4 separate regions of the Homo sapiens genome follow, and regions 1, 2 and 3 are each linked to region 4. Evidence: promoter capture Hi-C in 16 types of primary human blood cells and fetal thymus (Javierre and others, 2016). All regions are on one chromosome and are shown on one strand. The core of a region is centred on a gene start or on the middle of the fragment in contact, and the rest is flanking DNA. Distances in the headings are between cores, read along the strand shown. Region 1 overlaps INAFM2 (InaF motif containing 2). Region 2 holds the start of PLCB2 (phospholipase C beta 2). Region 3 has its middle 14 kb from the start of BAHD1. Region 4 holds the start of FSIP1 (fibrous sheath interacting protein 1).

The links. Contacts are between HindIII fragments. The CHiCAGO score rates a contact against its expected background, and 5 or more counts as called.
Region 1: a contact is called between a fragment that was not itself captured here and the fragment with the promoter of FSIP1 in region 4, in 2 of 17 cell types (naive B cells and total B cells). The highest score is 8.4, in naive B cells.
Region 2: the fragment with the promoter of PLCB2 here is called in contact with the fragment with the promoter of FSIP1 in region 4 in 1 of 17 cell types (naive B cells); the score reaches 6.9 in naive B cells.
Region 3: a contact is called between a fragment that was not itself captured here and the fragment with the promoter of FSIP1 in region 4, in 2 of 17 cell types (total B cells and naive B cells). The highest score is 6.5, in total B cells.

The regions. Positions count from the first base shown.
Region 1 is chr15:40,325,550-40,328,249 of GRCh38, reverse strand. INAFM2 (InaF motif containing 2) reads right to left here. Exons shown (of 1, transcript NM_001301268.2): 1 at 1,535-2,700. Among named protein-coding and RNA genes, the nearest start is that of INAFM2, 3.2 kb to the right of the region's middle. The HindIII fragment of the contact is 2,698 bases long and covers 71-2,700 here.
Region 2 is chr15:40,306,559-40,309,258 of GRCh38, reverse strand. It overlaps PLCB2 (phospholipase C beta 2), which reads left to right and starts at 1,324. Exons shown (of 32, transcript NM_004573.3): 1 at 1,324-1,670. The coding sequence starts at 1,587. The HindIII fragment of the contact is 15,701 bases long and covers 1-2,700 here.
Region 3 is chr15:40,425,743-40,428,442 of GRCh38, reverse strand. It overlaps a transcript of IVD not described here. Among named protein-coding and RNA genes, the nearest start is that of BAHD1, 14 kb to the left of the region's middle. The HindIII fragment of the contact is 7,750 bases long and covers 1-2,700 here.
Region 4 is chr15:39,781,456-39,784,155 of GRCh38, reverse strand. FSIP1 (fibrous sheath interacting protein 1) reads left to right here and starts at 1,315. Exons shown (of 12, transcript NM_152597.5): 1 at 1,315-1,528. LOC105370941 (a long non-coding RNA gene) reads right to left here and starts at 1,250. Exons shown (of 1, transcript NR_135665.1): 1 at 1-1,250. RefSeq lists an enhancer at 1,076-1,205 and a silencer at 1,506-1,685. The HindIII fragment of the contact is 7,042 bases long and covers 1-2,700 here.

The sequences.
Region 1 (2,700 bases), core at 170-2,669, 540 kb before region 4:
CTCCACGAAAGAACACGCTATCTCAGAATTCCCCAGTGAAAACTGAAAAAACAAGGTAGACAGAAAAGCTTCCAAAACATGGTCTCATACCATGTGGAAATCTAGGGCTGTTAGGAAGAGAAATATTTCTTATGCTTAAAACCTCAGAGAAACACTTCATTGTACCTTAACATTAATGGGGAAAGTGAAGATACCCTCACAAACTCAGCCTAATGGGTTCCTTCCCTGATCCTCCACCCCCCAAAACTTCACTTTCAAAACAGGCTTATCTCTTTCTTCAAGTTCAGGCCGTCAGGGAATAAATGAATGCACACCGTTAACTTCTAATATAAGCAAACACCTAGAAAGGGTCCTGGTAGTCCCGGTGCAAAGCCTTTGAAGGAAAGTAACCCCCTCTGCACAGATCTCTCCTTCCTGGCTTAAAACTTGATGGACAATTTTGCAGCTGATTTCTAACCCTTGGAAATAAAGCTATTCAGACCACTGCTCCTCAGCCAACCAGGCCCTGTCTCGTCGGCTAGCAGGCTCCCACTGTACATATTGCTGTATGTGCCCAACATGTGAAGCCGCCGTGGGCAGCTGTAGAAGCCACATGTCACTGTCTGCAAAAAGGAGGGGCCGACCAAAAGAGCCTTGGAAACTCTTTCACTCCCCTTCTGCTCTACCTTACCAAGCCCTCTCTCAGAAAGCCATTGTGTAGGCTGAAGAGGGAAATAAAAGAAGGGCAGACTTTTTCCATGCCTCCCTGCAGACTACAAGGTAATGTAAAAGAACAGTAGCTACCCCCCAACGGCTCTGCTGAAGTGCAGGCCTCAGGGGGCCCCACCAACACTGGCTTCTCACTCCGGATTTGTACCGGGCAGTATTGTCTAATAATGAGCTGAGCTCAATTGCTTACCATATATTTTGCAGCATAACTAATCCCTTATATTTGTGCCTTTCACCCACATGTCTTTTTTGTTTGCTTGAAGGGAAGAAAAAAACCTCACCTTTGAAGCAACCTAAACCTCTCAGCCATTTACCTCCTCCATGGTAGACAAAGCTCTGACCAAGCACCACAGATGTACACTTGCCTTTCTGGTGTTAGCACTTCTTGAGTTATCTAGAGGCCAATGGTTGAAAGGTGAGGACAGTGATGCTATCAGGCAGCTTATCCTCACCTCAGTGCTTAGCCAGCTAAATGTTTGCAGTAAATCTTAATATTCATGCTTACTGGTCCCTTAGCTTTGTCAGCTAGGCATCTGCTCTGGTAAAGCACAACTTTTTCTCAGCCTGTTTAAGGTTGGCAAAAGGTGGCTGAGCTAGAGATCACTGTTCTTCCACCCCGGGATTGCTTCCCGACTAAGATGGATTCTGCCGCCCTTCGCTAATCAATTCATTCAAGCCATCAGGCACTGAGAACAGCAGGGCAATTGCTTTTTCCTCCTCAACCTATTCATCACCATCCATCCATCACACCTCAGACCACTTACTCTTCCAACCTCTACTCCGTCCCCACGAAGCACAGTAAGAGAAATGATCAACTTACACAGGCTTAGGCAGAGTTCTTAGGATGTATTTTTGTTCACCTGAAAAATAAAACTTTTTAAAAATATACAGGACTTTTTGAGTACAGGTATATCTTAAATGGCTGAATTATAAATAATGTCTCTGGTCATGTTCACAGCTAGGGCTGGAGCAAATGTCCCAATTCCAGTGAAGGCTTTGGAGAGTCAGGAGGCCAGCAGCTGGACCTATGAGTGGCCTCTCTAGACTCTCTGATCCATCCCAAAGAGGATTTAAACAGTCCAGAAAGCAGGGATCAGGAAGAGGACAGGGAAGTGGACTCCCAGATGTTCTACAAGTTCAAAGGATTCTTGGAATAAGAGATCAATTTACAAATTATTAAAATATAGGACTAAAAATTCACACAGTAAATATAAATTACAGGCTATTATTGAAGTTGTAAAGTGGCATTTTATGTTTCTTCCCCATCTCACACCAAAAATGTAAAGGCCTCATAGGCTTCCCAATGACTGAAGTCCTAGTCAGCTGCTAAGAAATCTGCTCTAGCCAAGAGACCCTGGAGGTGTTACCAGCCTGCTGGTAGGCTGTGACAGCTCAGTTGCTATTATCGTGCCCACAACAGGACATGGCTTAAAGCAAGGCTGTTGTCCTGTAAACTTGGATCAGAGCTAACTAGAGTATAGGCCAGAAAACTGGAGAGACAAACTGTTTCAGGACTCAGGTGGGTAAGTTGTCTTTTAAAAAAAAAAATAGTGCCTCATTTCCCAAAATGGAAACACTAAGGGATTTGATATCTCATCACTACCCACACTCAATTGCCTAAAAGCAAATGGCAGAAGGAAATGGAATCCAAATTGAGGAAGTCTAGTTCTTGCTACCCCAGAGCTACATGTATGTCATTTCTCTTGATGTTTCTCATCTCCTTTATACAATTACAGGCTGCATTTAAGTAGGGCTTATCGGGAAAAGTAAAGACAGCCAATTCAACCTTCCCTCGGCTGGTCTATTAGCTGGTTCTCAAAGCACAATCCTGAGTGTGAAGCCCACCTTCCAGCCTTTCTGATTCTGTAGAATAACTCAAAACCAGAGGATGTGTAATCAAAGCTCTGGTGTTACAACAGATTTCATCCCAAATCGCCGGGCTTTGTCACTACAGGCTCAGGAAAGAGGGAAGGCAAAAGTGATTGCCGGAAC
Region 2 (2,700 bases), core at 75-2,574, 530 kb before region 4:
AGTGTCCTCCCTCACCCTCCACCCTGCCCTGGACCAGACCTCCAGCCGCGACAATTCTAGGGCCTGGGTGAGGGTCTTACCGTTGTTGGGGGTATGCAAAGCCCCATGGGGGGGTGACCCAGGGCAAAAGGCCAGGCCCCAGAGGGGAAGGAAGTCTTGGGTAGAGCTCCCTGCCTCCCAGGCTGGGCTAAGAAGGGCGATAAGAGGAGCAGATTAGGCAAGAGGAAGTGGGCTGGGCTGAGCTGGACTGGTGCTGAACTCCCTGGGCCTGGGGCAGAGTGTGGGTCAGGCACCTGAGCAGCTGGGGCTGAGCCTGGCCAACCAGAGCAGCCATCCCTCCGCCCCAGCCCCGCTGCAGGCTGGGGTACACAGCAGAGGCGGGCACACGGAGGAGAGAGGAGAGCGCAGTGGAGGCAGGGGCTAGGGCTGCTCAGTGGGGGTCCAGGCCTCAGGCAGTCCCAGAGGCCCAGAGGTGGGAGTCTGGTGAGGTGGGTGAGGGGAGTGATTGCCTTGCCTCATGTGCCCCTCATTTTCTTTCTTTTTTTATTTTTTTCGAGATGGAGTCTTGCTCTGTCGCCCAGGCTGGAGTGCAGTGGCGCCATCTCGGCTCATTGCAAGCTCCGCCTCCTGGGTTCATGCCATTCTCCTGCCTCAGCCTCCCGAGTAGCTGGGACTACAGGCGCCGCTGCCACGCCCAGCTAATTTTTTGCATTTTTAGTAGAGACAGGGTTTCACCGTGTTAGCCAGGATGGTCTCGATCTCCTGACCTCGTGATCCGCCCGCCTCGGCCTCCCAAAGTGCTAGGATTACAGGCGTGAGCCACCGCACCCGCCCGCCCGGCAGGTGCACCTCATTTTCATGGGGGAGGAAGCATTGAGAAAGAGGAGCCGTGTGTTCAGCAAACTTTGCTTATTCAAAACACTCCATTCCAGCTGGGCCCTGTCCCCACCCCACCCCTGCCTCTACGGTGCTCCCAACCTTTGGGGTCAGATGCCCATGCTCTGGACCCTTCCCCTGAGGAGGTCCTTTCTCCTAGTGAGCTCCCTGTGCCTTCCCTCAGTCCAGGCCTGGGCAGCAGTCTCCCCAGCTGGTCTCCATGTCGTCCTTCTCCAGCCCTCCTGGGCCAAATCTGACCAGAGACCACCACAGGGACTGAGAGGCCCTGGCTCCAAGGCGACCCGGCCTCATGACCACGTCTCCGCTGTGAGCAGCGCAGAGAAGGAAGCCCAGAGCAGGAAGTGCTGAGAGGCACAGGGTGGGGCTGGGGGTGGGGGCGGGGGCCTCCAGAAGAGGCGGGGGCTTCCTGCTTCAGCCTCCTTGGGCAGAAGCAGTGACCACAGGCCCCCATGGCAGGCAGGGCGGGTGGGAGGAGGGTGATTTACAAGGCAGATGGGCCTCTGGCTACAGCTCAGTCCTGCACTCAGCCAGGGCCACCCCAGGGGCTATAAGAGCAACTAGATTTCTGGAGCAGCTCGGGGATGGGTGCCATTTGAGCCCAGCTTGGCTCCCCCTCCTGGCTGGCCTCCTTCCTGCCCTTCTGCCTGCCTGTGTCTGCTGAGATTCTGCAAAGAGGAACGCTTGGCACCATGTCTCTGCTCAACCCTGTCCTGCTGCCCCCCAAGGTGAAGGCCTATCTGAGCCAAGGGGAGCGCTTCATCAAATGGGATGATGTAAGTGGGGCAGGGGCCTCAGCTGCTGGAGCACCAGGTGGTGGGGGCCGGGCTGCTACGGGGCTTTGCTTGGGTGGGAGGATTGGTTTATGTCTCCTAGGATCCAGGCGCCTGTGTGGTTTGGCCAGGCAGCTGACACCACTGCTTGGATAAACAAACCTGGGATTAAGGGTGTATGTCCCCAGCTAAAGGGCTAAGCCTTGGTTCTAGGTGTGAGAAGTGGGTGAGCTGCCTGGGTGGTCACTGGAGGTAGTTTATTTGGGTCTGCTTCTCTTCTCCTTCAAACCCCCAAGAGAAGAGGAGGAAAGTGCACCCCAGAGCTGAGGCAGGCTAGGAGGAGAGGTGAGCTCGTCCCCGCTCCCAGCACAGATGTCTTGCCCTTGCTCCGGCAGGGCGCTCAGACCCAGCTCCTTCACCCCCTCCACTGGGCATCATCCTGTCCAGGGAAGCCTTGCTCTCCCCTGCGCTGCTGTGGGGGCAGCCACAAAAGGCCCCTGGACCTAAGTGAGAACTAGAGGCTTCTGCTCCCAGGGAAGGAGCTGATTTGACTTCTGCTACCCCTTGCTGGGCTCAGCATTGCTCCCCGATGCAGGCCTGTCAGCAAGGGAAGGGGAAGACACTGCTGCACCCTGCAGCCCTCTCTCTGCTGTGTCTGTTCCTTCCTACACGGGGCTGCTCCCAGGCTCTGGTTCTCCTGGCCCCTGAAAATGTTACCTTAGGCCAGGGATTCTCTTAGGCTGGAGAGAACAATATGGAGATTCTCCTTCAGGGAGGGGAGGCTGCTGGGCTCGCCCAGTCTGAGAGTTAGAGTGCTGGGCTTGTCCCAGGAAGGGAAATGAAGGCTTGGTGGGGGAGGGAAGACAGCCCTTAGTGCTGACTTGTCCACCTGATGGGAGGTGGGATGAGGGGGTCTGGGTCTAGGCCCTTCGGGGCTGGGCTAGGCTAGGGGATCTCGCTGCCCATGACTATGGGTTGGGGCCCTGTGGTGAGATGCTTCCTGCTTCCCTAGGAGTGATGTGGGGTTGGTGTA
Region 3 (2,700 bases), core at 22-2,521, 640 kb before region 4:
ACAACCACCTGCTTCTCCAGCCTCAAAGGACCGTAGAGTATACTTTGCCCGGGGTACCTGGGAGAGAGGGGCTGGGAAGAGGTACAAGAGGACCTGGAACTGGCTGGATCTCAATATCTAGGTGGTGATTCTGAACTGCTGCCAGCTCCGGGCCTTGGAAGCAGTCTTAGGAAGGGAGAGCAGATCTCAGCTCTCTCAAGCAGTCTCAAGCAGCAGTCATATAAAACCCACAAACAGTCCAGTCTTTTTTTTTTTTTTTTTGACACGGAGTCTCACTCTGTCACCCAGGCTGGAGTGCAGTGGCCAAATCTCGGCTCACTGCAACCTCCGTCTCCCAGGTTCAAGCAATTCTCCTGCCTCAGCCTCCTGAGTAGCTGGCATTACAGGTGCGTGCCACCACACCCAGCCAATTTTTTTATTTTTAGTAAAGACGGGGTTTCACCATGTTGGCCAGGCTGGTCTCAAACTTCTGACCTCAGGTGATCTGCCCGCCTCAGCCTCCCAAAGTGCTGGGATTACAGGCATGAGCCACCGTGCCTGGCAGTCCAGTCTTAATTAGCAACCTTGGACTGGTCTGACTCCCACCCTTCCACTCTGGGCCACTGGTGGGCTTCTGGAAAGAAAGGAGGGGCTGGGCAGGATGCAGGCCAGTTATGAAGGACATCAAGTCTTCCTTCACTACCCTTTTCTCATTTCAGGTTCCTCTTTCCCCCTATTTTAAATCTTAATATATCTTATAGTAAAGTTATCTTAATTTATCTTATAGTAAATTTCATTTAACTATTCTACTTCAACAAGTAAAGAGACCCACTGTATGCCCAGCCCTGGCCAGCCTGCAGCATCAGACAAGACTCAAGTATGAACTAAGGGATTTTGCTACTCTATTCCTGTAAATAGAAAGACTTTGCGGGAGGGGGCAGGTTGTCCTGAAAACACATGTCTTTGTAGAGGTTGCCTCTTGGGAACCCAGGCAGATGTGCAAGGGGACTCTCAAGGCAGGCCAGGCAGGCAGCCCCCAGCGCTGGGCTTATCTCCCACAAGCAGCTGCGTGTTCACGCTCCTTGCCTCTGCTCCTGCAGCGTGTCTGACAGCCTCTCTGAAAGTGTGTGCAGACGTATGCATGTCCATGTGCATGCTCACCCATGTTTGCTCCTGGACGGGCACAAGGCACAAGCTGTGTCTGAATGGATCTGGATCTGGAGCTGTGTCTCTCTCTGCCAGTGCGAGCGTAGCCCTAGTCTTCTTGCTTCCTTCCTTCCTTCTTCTGCCAGCAAGGGCAGCCCTCTGTACTTCCGCCACTGATCCACTGGCCACCTTTGAGGAGCGGAGGTACTGCCTGTGCTGAGATATTCCTGGGCCTGGAATACCTTTTTTTCTTCAAGAAAATTCCCACTTATCTATCCAGCCCTTACTCTCTCGTGTCTTCCAGGGCAAAACTGGAGCATCCGGCTGCCTGGCAGGGTAAATGGAAACGTAATTGTTGCTCTCTGAGGCTGGTCTGTGCTAAATCATTACCATCTCCCCAGCCCGTCGCCCAGTGCATGGGTCTTAGTAGCTTGCCTATAAAGGTTTGTTCAACATGTGGTTTATGGGCCTGGCTGGGGAAGCAGCGATGCACAGATGCACACTTTTGCCATCTGATTTCTCTCCCTTGCTGAAAATAAGCTCATGGGGTTAGCCCTGGGGCTGGCATTCAACTTTTGCCCCAAGTCACCTCTGGTGGCATCATTCTAATAGGCCCACAACTACTTTGGAAAACAGTTTTGAATTATCTAGTAAGGTTGATCAGGTGCATAGCCTACAACAGATAAATTATATTCCTGGGACTATGACTTGAGGAACACTTGCACATCTGTATCAGAAGATACCCACAGGAATGGTTTTTTCTTTTCTTTTTTTTTTTTTGAGACAGTGTATCGCTCTGTTGCCCAGGCTGGAGTGCAATGGTGTGATCTCGGCTCACTGCAACCTCTGCCTCCCAGGTTCTAGCTATTCTTGTGCCTCAGCCTCTAGAGTAGCTGGGATTACAGGCATCCACCACCACACCCGGCTAATTTTTGTATTTTTAGTAGAGATAGGGTTTCACCATGTTGGCCAGGCTTGTTTCAAACTCCTGACCTCAGGTGATCCACCCGCCTCGGCCTCCCAAAGTGCTGGGATTACAGGTATAAGCCACCGCGTCTGGCCAGGAATGTTTTAGAATAGCCCCAAACTGGAAACAGCCCAAATGTCCATCGACAGTAGAATGGACAATTAAATTGTTGTATTTCCACATTATGGAATACTACACAAGAAAAAAAATTGAAGAGATTACAGTCCTGCTCATTAACATGAATGAGGCTGGGCACCGTGGCTCACACTTGTAATCCCAGCACTTTGGGAGGCTGAAGCAGAAGGATGGCTTGAGCTCAGGAGACCAGCCTGGGCAACATAGTGAGACCCTGTCTCTATAACATTTAAGAAAAAAAAAAAAAAATAGCCGGACTGGGCCTTTAATCCCAGCTACTGAAGAGACTGAAGTGGGAGAATCACTTGAGCCCGGGAGGTCAAGGCTGCAGTTAGTCATGACTGCGCCGCTGCACTCCAGCCTGGGTGACAAAGTGAGGCCCTGTCTCAAAAACAATAAAAAATTTAAAAGAGCTGAGCATGGAGGCCACTTTGGGAGGCTGAGGCAGGCAGATCTCTTAAGCCCAGGAGTCT
Region 4 (2,700 bases), core at 66-2,565:
CTAGGTCGGCTGCTAAGTTTTAATTCTCATAGGAGGATTAGGATACTTTCTCCCATTTTCTTCAGTTTGCAACTTTTTTTCTTTTGAGATTTGGAAAGCCACATAAATTCCCTGAGAAATGCTGGGAAGAAATCCCTGCACAGAAACACTAACAATGAGGACAGTGAGGCTGGAACCAGGTTTACCAGGGGAAAGCAGTAGGTAGGAGTGGAGGTCAGAGAGCCAACAGAAAGCCTTATCATTTAGAGATGATGTCAGTATGAACCTGAATGGAAGCACTGAAGTTGTGACGAATGTTTGGATTCTGAATATATTTTGAATGTTGAGCTGATAGGACAAATAGATTGTAGAGTGAGAGAGGAAGAAGAATTGAGGATGACTCCAAGGTTTTTGGTCTAGGCATGGCAGGCTGAAATTACCATTTGCTGAGATGGATAGAAAGTGGGTGGGGGACTCTGGAGAAGTTGTTTTTTCCCGTGTTAAGTTTGAGATGCTTACACATCTAAGTGGATATGCCAAATAGGCAGTTAGGTAAAGGAGTCTGGAGTTCAGGGAAGTCTGGGCTGGTGATAAGATGCAGGATTCAGGAGCATAGGGATGGCATTTATAGCCAGGTTTTTATACCCAGCACTCGCCTAGACTGCAGCTGTGTTCTTTCGGCAACTCAGCCTACGACTATTTGCTTCGCTGAAAAAAAACCACATCGTACCTAGTTAAAACAATGAGGACAAAGGGGCCATGAATGTGAAAATGCCCTGTAAACGGTAATGTGCTGTTCAGACTGGAAAGCAGGAGAAATGATGGCAATGGAGGTGAGGAAAATCAGTTTGTGGACGTAGGGAAATAATTTTCGTGCACTGAGAATTAGAGAAACTACGAAATGAAAGAAGGTGCAAAAAGCAATTATAACTCTTTTTGGACTGTAGCCGAATCTGTGCAAAACTCATATTTTTAAAATTTCCATAGCACCCCAAATTTACTAGAGCTTCACATACATGGTCTTTTTGAGCTGCACAAGTCTTGTAAGAAGGGAATTATTATTGTTCCCATTTTACGGAGGAGGAAACTGTGCTCGGAGAGGATAACTGACCTGTAAGGCATCACAGCAATATGAGGGACAGAGATACACAAGCATCCAGACGTCCGCGTTCCGAATCCAACCTAAAGACGAAAAATCGCTCCCAACCCCCACCGTCGGCAGCGAAGACGGAAGGACACACGCCGGCCGTCCCAGCTCGCAGGGCTCCAACAGCCGCCGGCCCCGGTCCCATTTCCGGATGGTACAGCCCTTTCCGCTATCGCGAGACCGGAAGCATCGCGCATCTGGTTGCCAGGGAAACAGCGGTCCCACAGGCAGGAGGGATCTGGACCGGCGGCTTCTTCCACTACCAGAGAGGCTGAGGTGGCGGGAGAGACCCCTCTCCTCTGGGGGTAAGTGGCTGGCGCGGCGAGTGTCTGCGGCGCGCTTCTGCGGCCATCTGCGCCCTGACTGACGGCGGCCAGTTCCTCGAGGAGGCCCGGCGGGAAGGTGAGGGGCCGCGCAGATGAGGGCGGAGCTCGGTCGCGGGGCGGTGCGCCGAGGAGTGGGCGGGGCGGAGCTGCGTCGGGCCGCTTGGCATGTAGATGGACTGTCAGGGAGAGCGGACAGGGCCAATGAGAGGGCGGGGGCGGGCTCATTGGGGGCGGGGCCCCAGCGGCTTCTGCCTCCGCGGAGGCTATTTCTCCAGGAATCACCTAACATTAGGACCTGTAACCAAGGCTTCTACTTTCCCGAGATTTGGATCTTCCCACCAAGATCTAGAACTGATCACCAGCCATTTAAACTAGACCGTAAACGGCAAAGGATGCAAATAGGCATTTCACAGGAAAAATAAAAAGATGCAAACAGCAAACAATTGATTAGAGACTCAACTTTTCTCGTGAAGAAATGTAAACCAAATTCACAGATACCTTTTACACCTATGAGACTGGAGAAGATGAAACAGCTTTGACATAACCAGATGGGCCCCAGCCCAGTGTAGGGGAAGTAGTGTAATTTGGTGCAGCCTTTTTGGAGTACAATTTGGCGAACTACCAAAATTTGAAACATAAGTGTTCTTTGACTCAGCAATTCTAATATATTTTATGGATGTATGAGCATAACTAAAGAAAGATTGGCACAAATATATTAACTTAAAATTGAGGTATAACTTACTTATGGTAAGCCTCACCCATTTAATCTACAGTTCTGTGAGTTTTGACAAATGTATACAGTTATGTAATTACCAACCACCACAATCAGCATACGGAAGTTTCATCATGAACCCCAAATTCCCTAGTGCTCTTTGTATTTAATCCCTCCCCTAACGCCATCCCTGGCAACAACTTCCTAGTTTTTTGTTCCTGTAATTTTGCCTATTCCAGAATGTCATATTGATGGAAGCAAACACCCTGTGGCCTTTTGAATCAGGCTTCTTTCAGCTTAGCATCATGCAGTTGCTATTCATTCATGTTCTGTGTATCAGTTGTTCCTTTATGTTGCTGAGTAATAGTCCATTGTATGGATCTACGGTAGTATATTTATCCATTTCCTACTTGAGGCATATTTGGATGAGTTCTTTCCAGTTGTTGGCTATTATTGATGAAGCTGGTATAAATATTCATGTACAGGTTTTTTTTTGTGTGTGTGAATATGTTTTCATTTCTTGGGTAAATATGAAT